Regions from separate parts of the Homo sapiens genome. Here region 1 is linked to region 2. The links are contacts of gene promoters, found by promoter capture Hi-C in blood cells and fetal thymus (Javierre and others, 2016). All regions are on one chromosome and are shown on one strand. The core of a region is centred on a gene start or on the middle of the fragment in contact, and the rest is flanking DNA. Distances in the headings are between cores, read along the strand shown.

Region 1 (4,271 bases), core at 1,502-4,001, 130 kb after region 2:
TAAGTCTTAATGAGAAAAATTCTAAAGGGCTTCAGGTGCTAAATATTGATCAAACAAGTATTTTCTGCTGGCATATTACACATGTAATTATTCAGTCATTTAATGAAATGAGTGTTTTGTTTTATCCAGAAATGCAATAAAAATTCAGAAAGAAATACTTACCAAAGAAAGGCACACATGGTGGATTAATAGACCTGAGTTTTGCCAAATATTTCTTATAGTGATCTTCACTCAATTCATGAGCTTCTTCTAAAATTTTCTTCTGGCGACTTGGTATTTGCTATAAGGAAAAAAAATAGGCGTAAGTTTACAAAAGGAATCAAAGGTCTTGTCAAAAAAAATACTAGGCTAACAGAAACGCCCAAATACAACAGTATCAATTTGATTTTATGACTGTAACATTGCTTCAAATATTGCTTCAAATAAATTATCTTCATAGACCTCAGTATAAACTTAAAGTATGTGTGTGTGTGAGAGAGATCTAGTTTATCATGTCATTCCTTACACAATTATGTGAACATTTAACTGTACATTATCTTACAAATTAAGTGCCGAAAGTTTTTTCTTCTAGCTTAGGCTGGGACCTGTGAATACATTTTAATAGGAATGCTTAAATTTTAAAAAGCAACCAATTCATTACAAAACTTAGATAATTCAGTCTTTTAATCTACTACTGAAAAGACAAATGAGACATTTAAAAATTAAAGATAATAATTGTTAAAAATCTAATTTTTCTAATAGGGAATGAAAGTTCATTTTAAAAACACATGTAGAAACCTACCTCAAATGTGTGGTCTAGTCTGTAAACAGGTGATGAATTCATAGCACTGACAACCTCAAGGACACCATTAAAGTTGTTCAACTCTTGAAAGACTTGTAGAATCTCAATAATTCGACTCACCACAGCTACTCTTTCTTCTAAATTTTCAGTTTCTACAATACATCTGGGAATAAAAAAAAAGTGAACTAAAGGTTTTAGAGTTTTTCCAATAAAGTTATAGCTTAAAGAATTTAGTAAATAAAATAATGTAGAGAGTAGGGGGGTGGCGATAGTATAACTACTATAGAGAAGACACATTCAGGGTGACTGATAGAAGGAAGGCAGTGCCTCCAGTCAGGCATACTGCTCTTTCCCGTCTTCTAGACTGGTACAGTCAAACAATCATTTTCCTACTATATTTGGTGCATCCTCTATTAGCATCAGAATTAACTGGTGAGGCCACTATCTTGTGGAATGTATGGAGGTCTTTGTGAGGTCTTTGTGATGTGGGTGTATTCTAGTAGAATTCAAGAATTCTGTTGTGTTCTATTCTTCATCTAATTGCAAGATTTTAGTGATTAATGCTCAATTTCTTTCTTTCATATATTATTGGCTACATACATTTCTAGGAACAGCTCTGTTCCTATGTTTCCTACATTTCTACGAACAGCATTAAATGTAATGGCAAAAACTGCAATTACTTTTGCACCAACCTAATATATAATTGCATTGAGATTCTGGACTTGTGGTATGATAGTATGAGGAGCTTCACTGAGTGAAACTGGTAAAAATTATTAAAACACACATACACACAAACACACACATGCACACGCACACACACACATTTAAAGTCTCTAGTAATGGCCCTGAGAGCAAATGGCAAAAGAAACATCTATTCAGGAAAATCTACAAAAATTTGGTAAGAGAGGGGAGAGAGTCTGTGGTATTTGAACCAAGACTGGTCCCTCCCTTCTTTCTCCCAGCTCAGTGAGGGTGAACTGAGCATCTACTCCAGATTCCTGCAGTCAAGAACACCTAGCTCCCGGTGAGGTGCAGGAGCAGGACTTCAGTTTTCTCATCCTGTCCCTGCTGCCTGTTGCTGAGGCCAAGTCCCAGTTGAGTGCAGCTGAGAAGTAGGAATACCCTTTTTTGCCCAACTTCCACTTATGGAATGGAGACGCTACCTTGGGTGTGATGTTTTGAGCATACTGAGAAAAGAGCCCTTCCTCTGGTTCCTGAGGGCGTGGTTCCATGCCAGAAGAGGCGGGTAAGAAGACCTCAGGCTGCAGTAGCATCCGTCTGCCACTCTACCTGCTCAACCAAGCACTTAGCTCCTAGGGCAGAAGTGTCACTCAGAGAAAAGCTTGCCATTGTTGCCCAGCCCCAGAGCCCTGTTTCAAACAGATAGCTCCTAATTTCTTGTCATTTGCAACAAAGTATAAAGTAGTTTAAATTTAATGGTGCCCTTAGGAACAGTGGAAATTGTGGTGAAAGGCAATGGGGAAGAGATTTGTGGATCTAATGAAGATACACCCTAGACTGTAGGCAGAGTAGTTTGCAGGAGACAACTAGGAAATAAGACGGCTGAGAGGAGCCCTCCTGGGGTCAGAACAAGTATCAAACAGAAATCTCAGAAACCATTCCTTCAAAGGAGCCACAATTTGATTGCATTATTTTGTATAGCATTTATGCCACCAGAAAATTGTTGAAAACATCAGAGCAATCAGCTGGCAAATTGTGGAGTTTCATAGCTGGGTGTGTGTGGTCAGGTAAGGAGTGGATGAGTCTTTCCAGTACCACTGCCATGCAATAAGAAGCCCTGGAAAGGGGGCTGGGGAAGGAGGAGCAGTACTCAGAGTTGCTACACTATATTATCTGAAATGTCAGGTTTCCAGCAAAAACAGATGAGGTATGCAAACCAATAGGAAAGTATGACTCTTACAAGGGGTGGGGGTGGGGCGGAGGGGGTGGAAGGAACAGAAACTGCCTGTGAGAGCAACCAAATGTCAGATTTAACAACAGTAACAAAAAAGATTTCTAAGTAGCCATTATGAATACGGTCACGGAATTAAAGGAAAGCATGAAAAAGAAGGAAAGGAAGGTATTGATGACAATGTGCATCGAAGAGAGGATATCATTAAAGAGATAGAAACTATAAAAAGGAACCAAAGGGAAATTCTGGAATTAAAAAGTACAATAACTGAAATAAAAAACTTACTGGATAAGCTCAATAGTATATTTGAACTGAAAAAAAAAATATTAACTTGAAGATAGAGCCATTGTTCAAAAACGAAGGTAAAATAAAGATTTTCCCAGATAAACAAAAACTGAGAGAATTTGTTGCTAGCCCACCCTCCAGAAGAAATACTAAAGGAAGTTCTTCAGGCTGAAAAGCAAGTGATCCCAGATGGTAATTCGAATCCACACAAAGACCATCAGTAAAGGTAATTGTGTAATTATTAAAGACATTTTGTAAATGCGTATTTTTTTCTCATTTCTTCTCATAACTGACTTAAACAACTGTATAAAATAATATAAACATTGTTGAATTTATTGACATAGAAATGTAATATATTTGTAATATGTTGCCAATAATACACAAAGAAGGTGGGTGAGAGCAAAGCTTTAATGGGCTAAGAGGATGATGACAAATGGTAAAGTAATAACTGTTAACAATGTATTGTTTGATTTGCATCATTAATAAGATGTAATATGTATTACAGTACCACAAAAAAAAGGGAGAAAGGGAATAGAGCTACATAGGAGTAATATTTCATATGTCACTGGTATTAAGCTACTATAAGTCTGAAGCTGATTCTGATAAGATGTGTAGGGTAAACTGTAAGGCAACCAGGCAACCACTAAAAGGACCTCAAAAAAAGTTAATGAAAAAAATTAATGCTACATTAGAAAAACATTCAATATTTTCTAATGACAAATATTATCATTTTCATCAACACTCAATGCAAAAGAAAGGAGGAATAGAGGAAAAAGACATGAGACATATAGAAATAAAATTGCATTGGTCAGGAGCGATGGCTCACGCCTGTAATCCCAGCACTTTGGGAGGCCAAGAGGGGTGGATCACTTGAGGTCAGGAGTTCAAGACCAGCCTGGCCAATGTGATGAAACCCCATCTCTACTAAAAATACTAAAATTAGCTGGGTGTGGTGGTGTGCGTCTGTAGTTGCAGCTACTCAGGAGGCTGAGGCCTGAGAATTGCTTGAACCCGGAAGGTGGAGGTTGCAGTGAGCTGAGATCACACCACTGCACTCCAGCCTGGGCAACAGAGCCAGACTCTGTCTCAAAAAAAAAAAAAAAGAAAAAGAAAGAAAGAAAATTAAAATTAGGTGAGTGTGATATCACACACTTGTAATCCTGGTTACTCTGGAGGCTGAGGTGGGAGGATCGCTTGAGCCTGGGAGGTGGAGGTTTCAGTGGGCCGATGTGCCACTGCACTCCAGCCTATGTGACAGAGCAAAACTCCGTCTCAAAAAAAACAAACAAAAAA
Region 2 (4,747 bases), core at 2,185-4,684:
TTCAAAGACACAATAAATGAAAAGTAAAAGGATGGAAAAAGATGATCTTGCAAACAGCAACTACAAGAAAGGTGGAGTGGCTATGTTAATAGCTTACAAAACAGACTTTAAAGCAAAAAATATTACTAGAGATAGGGATATTTCTTAATGATAAAAGGGTTAATCTGCCAGGAAATGATAACAATTAAAAACACATATGTACCTAATAATAAGGCACCAAAATACACAAAGCAACAACTGACAGAAATGAAGGGAGAATTAGACAATTCAATAATAATAGTAGGAGACTACAGTACCTCACTTTTAATGGTAGAACAACTAGACAGAGGATCAACAAGGAAATAAAAGACTTGAACAACACTCTAACCAACTAGACCTAATAGGTGTCTATAGAACACTCCACCCAACAACGAACTATACATACTTCTGAAGTACACATGAAACATTTTCCAGGATATAGACCATACTAGGTGATAAAAGAAACCTCAATACATTTTTTTTTTTTTAAGACAGAGTCTTGCTCTGTCGCCCAGGCTGGAGTGCAGTGGCACAATCTTGGCTCACAGCAACCTCCGCCTCCCAGGTTCAAGCGATTCTCCTGCCTCAGCCTCCCGAGTAGCTGGGACTACAGGCACCCGCCACCATGCTCCCTGACTAATTTTTGTATTTTTAGTAGAGATGGTGTTTCACCATGTTGGTCAGGCTGGTCTCGAATTCCTGACCTCAGGTGATCTGTCCACCTTGGCCTCCCAAAGTGCAGGGATTACAGGCGTGAGCCACTGTGCCCAGCCATAAACCTCAATAAATGTAAAAAGAAAGAAATAATATGAACTATGTTCTCCAACCAAAATGGAATTAGAAATCAAAAGCTAGAAAAAATTTGGGAAACTCACAAATATGTGTATATTAAACTAGGTCTTCCTAGGTATTCCTTTCTTCAAAATTGCTGATGATTATACATATGTATTCAGAGTTTATCTTAAGTTTGTCTCTCCTTTCTACTCCCAGAAAGCTCTTTGAAAACAAGACTATGTCTATTTTGATTACCACTGTACCCTTAACACAGTGTCTAGCATATGGTAGGAATTCAGTATCTATTTGTGGAATGAATGATTGAAGGTTGAAAAAATGACTTATGTGGGAATGGAGATTTGTTCATCTATTTATTCATTCCACAAATATTTATTGAGCACTTATTATGTGCCAGATCCTGGGGATATAACAGCAAAAAAGACAAAATTTCTGCTTCATGAAGCTTACCTTCTAGAGGGTAACACAGACATTAAACAAATAGATATATATTATAACTTAAGTGCTATCAAGGAAAAAAAACCCCCGAGGCAGTTATTTTAGATAGAGTGGTTGGGTAAGGCCTCTTTGAGATTTTAAAGGACATCCGGAAGAAATTGACAGAATGAGCCATGAAATAGTCATCCCTCGGTATACACAGGGGATTGGTTCCAGAACCCCCATGTATACCAAAATCCACGGATACTCAAGTTCTCCAGTCAGCCCTGTAGAACCTGCATAGAGGAAAAGTTGGCCCTCTGTATGTGGGTTTTGCATTCCAGGAATACTGTCTTTTCTTTTTTCTTTCTTTCTTTTTTTTTGAGACTGGATCTTGCTCTATCACCCAGGCTGCAGTGCAGTGGTACGATCATAGCTTACTGCAGCCTCGATCTCCTAGGCTCAAGCAATCCTCCTGCCTCAGCCTCCTGAATAGCTGGGACCACAGGTGCACCACCACACCCAGCTACTTTAAACATTTTTTAGTAGAAATGAGGTTTCGCTTTGCTGCCCAAGCTGGTCTCGTACTCCTGAGCTCAAGCAATCGTCTCACCTTGGCCTCCCAAAGTGCTGAGATTACCGGCATGAGCCACTGTGCCTAGTTGAAATACTGTATTTTTTTTTTTTTTTTTTTTTTTTTTGAGACAGAGTCTCACTCTGTCGCCCAGGCTGGAGTGCACTGGCGCAGTCTCAGCTCACTGCAACCTCCACCTCCCGGGTTCACGCCATTCTCCTGCCTCAGCCTCCTGAGTAGCTGGGACTACAGGCACCCGCCACCATGCCCGGCTAATTTTTTGTATTTTTAGTAGAGACAGGGTTTCACCGTGTTAGCCAGGATGGTCTCGATCTCCTGACCTCGTGATCCGCCCGCCTCGGCCTCCCACAGTGCTGGGATTACAGGCGTGAGCCACCGCGCCCGACCTGAAATACTGTATTTTCAATCTGTGTTGGGTTGGGAAAAATCCACCTGTAAGTGGAGCCGGGTAGTTCATACCCATGTTGTTCAAACGTCAACTTTACTCACAAAAATGTAGAGTCATTAAAATCTTAACAGGCAAGAAAAATAACAGGTCAAACTGAATTCTGTAAGGTTGTGCACCAATAATTACCTATTATTTCTAAAATTTAGGGAAATGAAATAACAAATCAGTTAGATTAGAACTTCATCTCAAAAACCATGCAGCCCAGGTAAATTTGTGTACTGAGAAACATTAGGAAAAAGCAAGAGGATACTTACGCTGAATCAAAACAAGTTGTCTCACACCAACCCAGAAAATGTTACTTTTACAACTAGATCTGAGATATGCGCTTAACATTTTAAACGAAGATTTACTGACTGTAATGGTGTCCAATACCACTCTCCCAGAGTTTTCAAGGGAATAGGAATTAGGTTGTATAATCCACGTGGTTAGATTCCACTATCTATTCCATCTAGCCCGGGAAGACTCCAACTATCTTTCTTCACCATGGATACAGGGACCTAAGTTTGGCTGTAAGAGTATTCTTTGTTTGATAGCCAAGGCACTGAAAAGTGACTACACACTACTCTCCTCCCAGGCAGATCTCTGACTGATCACAATATATCCAGCTCCATCCAGATATCCAGATCTCGTATCCTTTTTCGAACTCACATCGTCCCCACCCTTCTCCCCAAAAAAGCCACACAGACGGAGTCAGAGAACGGAGCCTGATCCCTTCAATCAACCCCTTAGCCTGCTCCAAGACTGAATTTCACGCCCCGCCCCCCCCGGCCCCAACCTGCAGTTTGAGCGTGGACAACCTCAGCGGCAGAGCCCGCCTTGGTTCGGTATCAGGGCCTGGGATCCTGCTGGTCCAGATTCACCGGCCCCAGGCAGACTGGATGAAACACACTGGGCCGCGATGCTCGTCAGATCCCGACCACTCCTGGAGCAGGAGGCGGCAGACACACTGACAAACAGGGTGACGCGCACACCGTGCGCACAACGCGCATCACTTGTCCGCAGAAGTGGAAGACGTACCTGGCTCGCAGAGTTGGGTCCCGAGCCGGCTGTCGGGAGGTGCTGCCCAAGGGTCAGAGGTCCAAACTGGACTTGGCCACCCTCACGATTCTCACTTGGAGCAGCCCTGCGGTGGCCCAGCTGCAGCGGCACAGTCCCGGCGCCTTCTGATTGGCTCAGCTACAGCCCCTCGCGTATTCGCTTCCGGGTGAGAGGTGCCCGGTCGCCCCAGCAACCAAGTCGCACCTGGAGCTGTCCTAGCGCCTAGTTCTCTCCCGGCCGCAGAGCTGGCCGCCCAGGGGGAGTCGCAGAGTTTGGAAGATCTCTCTAACACCTCTCGGCCAAGTGAGTGTCCCTCCTCCTAACGACCCGGGCAGAGAAGAGCTCCTTTAAGTCGAACTAGCGTGGAGTCAGAACCTGCTTGGCTCCCGGTAACTCCTGTGGGGGTGTGATATATTTCCTGACCGTCTAGCCGAGGGGCACGGGGGAACCCCTGGTCTGGGAATCTAGCTCTGATTCTGTTGTTAATTCGCTGTTGAGACACCCGAGGCGCGTGCCAACCTCCCTGGGCCTCAGTTTCCGCTATGGTGCCGGGTGGTCTCTGTGAGGTTCCCTCTAGCTCTGACGTTCCCAAGTTTCGAATGTAGAACATTTTAGCGGCAATTGAAAACAGTCCAGTTTCTGATATGATTACGTTTAATGCTCTGCTTCATAGGCACTTAACGATTCCTTCCGAAGTGCCCTTCATTCACTAGACGTTCTGTTACTATTAGTACTAAACACGGAGTCGGACAGTGGGGTGAGAAGAGATTTGACTAATCTGCCATCCGTGTCCTGGAGGAACTGGGTGGGATAGGGGATCCCGATACAAAAGCATGGTTTTAATAGAACCTTAAGTACTACAGTAGGAATAGGCCCAGAGTGCCGTGGGGGTTCCTGAAGGAGTCTGAGGTTGACAAGTAATGAGAAGAAAGGCTTTGTGGGAGAGCTCATACCTGAGCTGGGGCTACAAGAATACAATAGCTAATATTTACAGAGTTTAGACACTGGGCTAAGTGCTTTAACTAGATTAGCTCATTTACTTGATTTGCCCCATCTAAGGATGAGGAAACTGAGGCATAAGATAATTATTTGTCCAAGGTCAGAGAAAATGGTGGAGTCTGGATGCAAAGGTAGGTAGTCCGATGCCAGAGCATGAACCCCTAACTACTACACTCTATTTTGCCAACTCTTGAGGATGAATAGCAGTTAACCAGGTAAAGAAGAGAAGGGTGTTCCACCCAGAGTACGGCATGGCATCTGTGGGAAACTACAAGCAGATCTGGTAATCTAGTTAGTTATCATTAGTTAAACACTTAGAAAGTAGCTCTGACGCCTGTAGTTCCAGCTACTTGGGAGGCTGAGGCAGGAGAATGGCGTGAACCCGGGAGGCGGAGGTTGCAGTGAGACGAGATCAAGCCACTGCACTCCAGCCTGGGCGA

What was found. The method cuts DNA at HindIII sites, captures the fragments that hold promoters and counts their contacts. A CHiCAGO score of 5 or more calls a contact.
Region 1: a fragment that was not itself captured here is called in contact with the fragment with the promoter of DHX57 in region 2 in 1 of 17 cell types (M2 macrophages); the score reaches 9.2 in M2 macrophages.

What each region holds. Positions count from the first base shown.
Region 1 is chr2:39,006,250-39,010,520 of GRCh38, forward strand. It overlaps SOS1 (SOS Ras/Rac guanine nucleotide exchange factor 1), which reads right to left. Exons shown (of 23, transcript NM_005633.4): 16 at 782-944; 17 at 163-280. Among named protein-coding and RNA genes, the nearest start is that of SOS1, 110 kb to the right of the region's middle. The HindIII fragment of the contact is 1,260 bases long and covers 2,122-3,381 here.
Region 2 is chr2:38,872,500-38,877,246 of GRCh38, forward strand. DHX57 (DExH-box helicase 57) reads right to left here and starts at 3,435. Exons shown (of 24, transcript NM_198963.3): 1 at 3,288-3,435. MORN2 (MORN repeat containing 2) reads left to right here and starts at 3,477. Exons shown (of 5, transcript NM_001145450.3): 1 at 3,477-3,611. The coding sequence starts at 3,554. RefSeq lists an enhancer at 2,644-3,628. The HindIII fragment of the contact is 7,829 bases long and covers 1,254-4,747 here.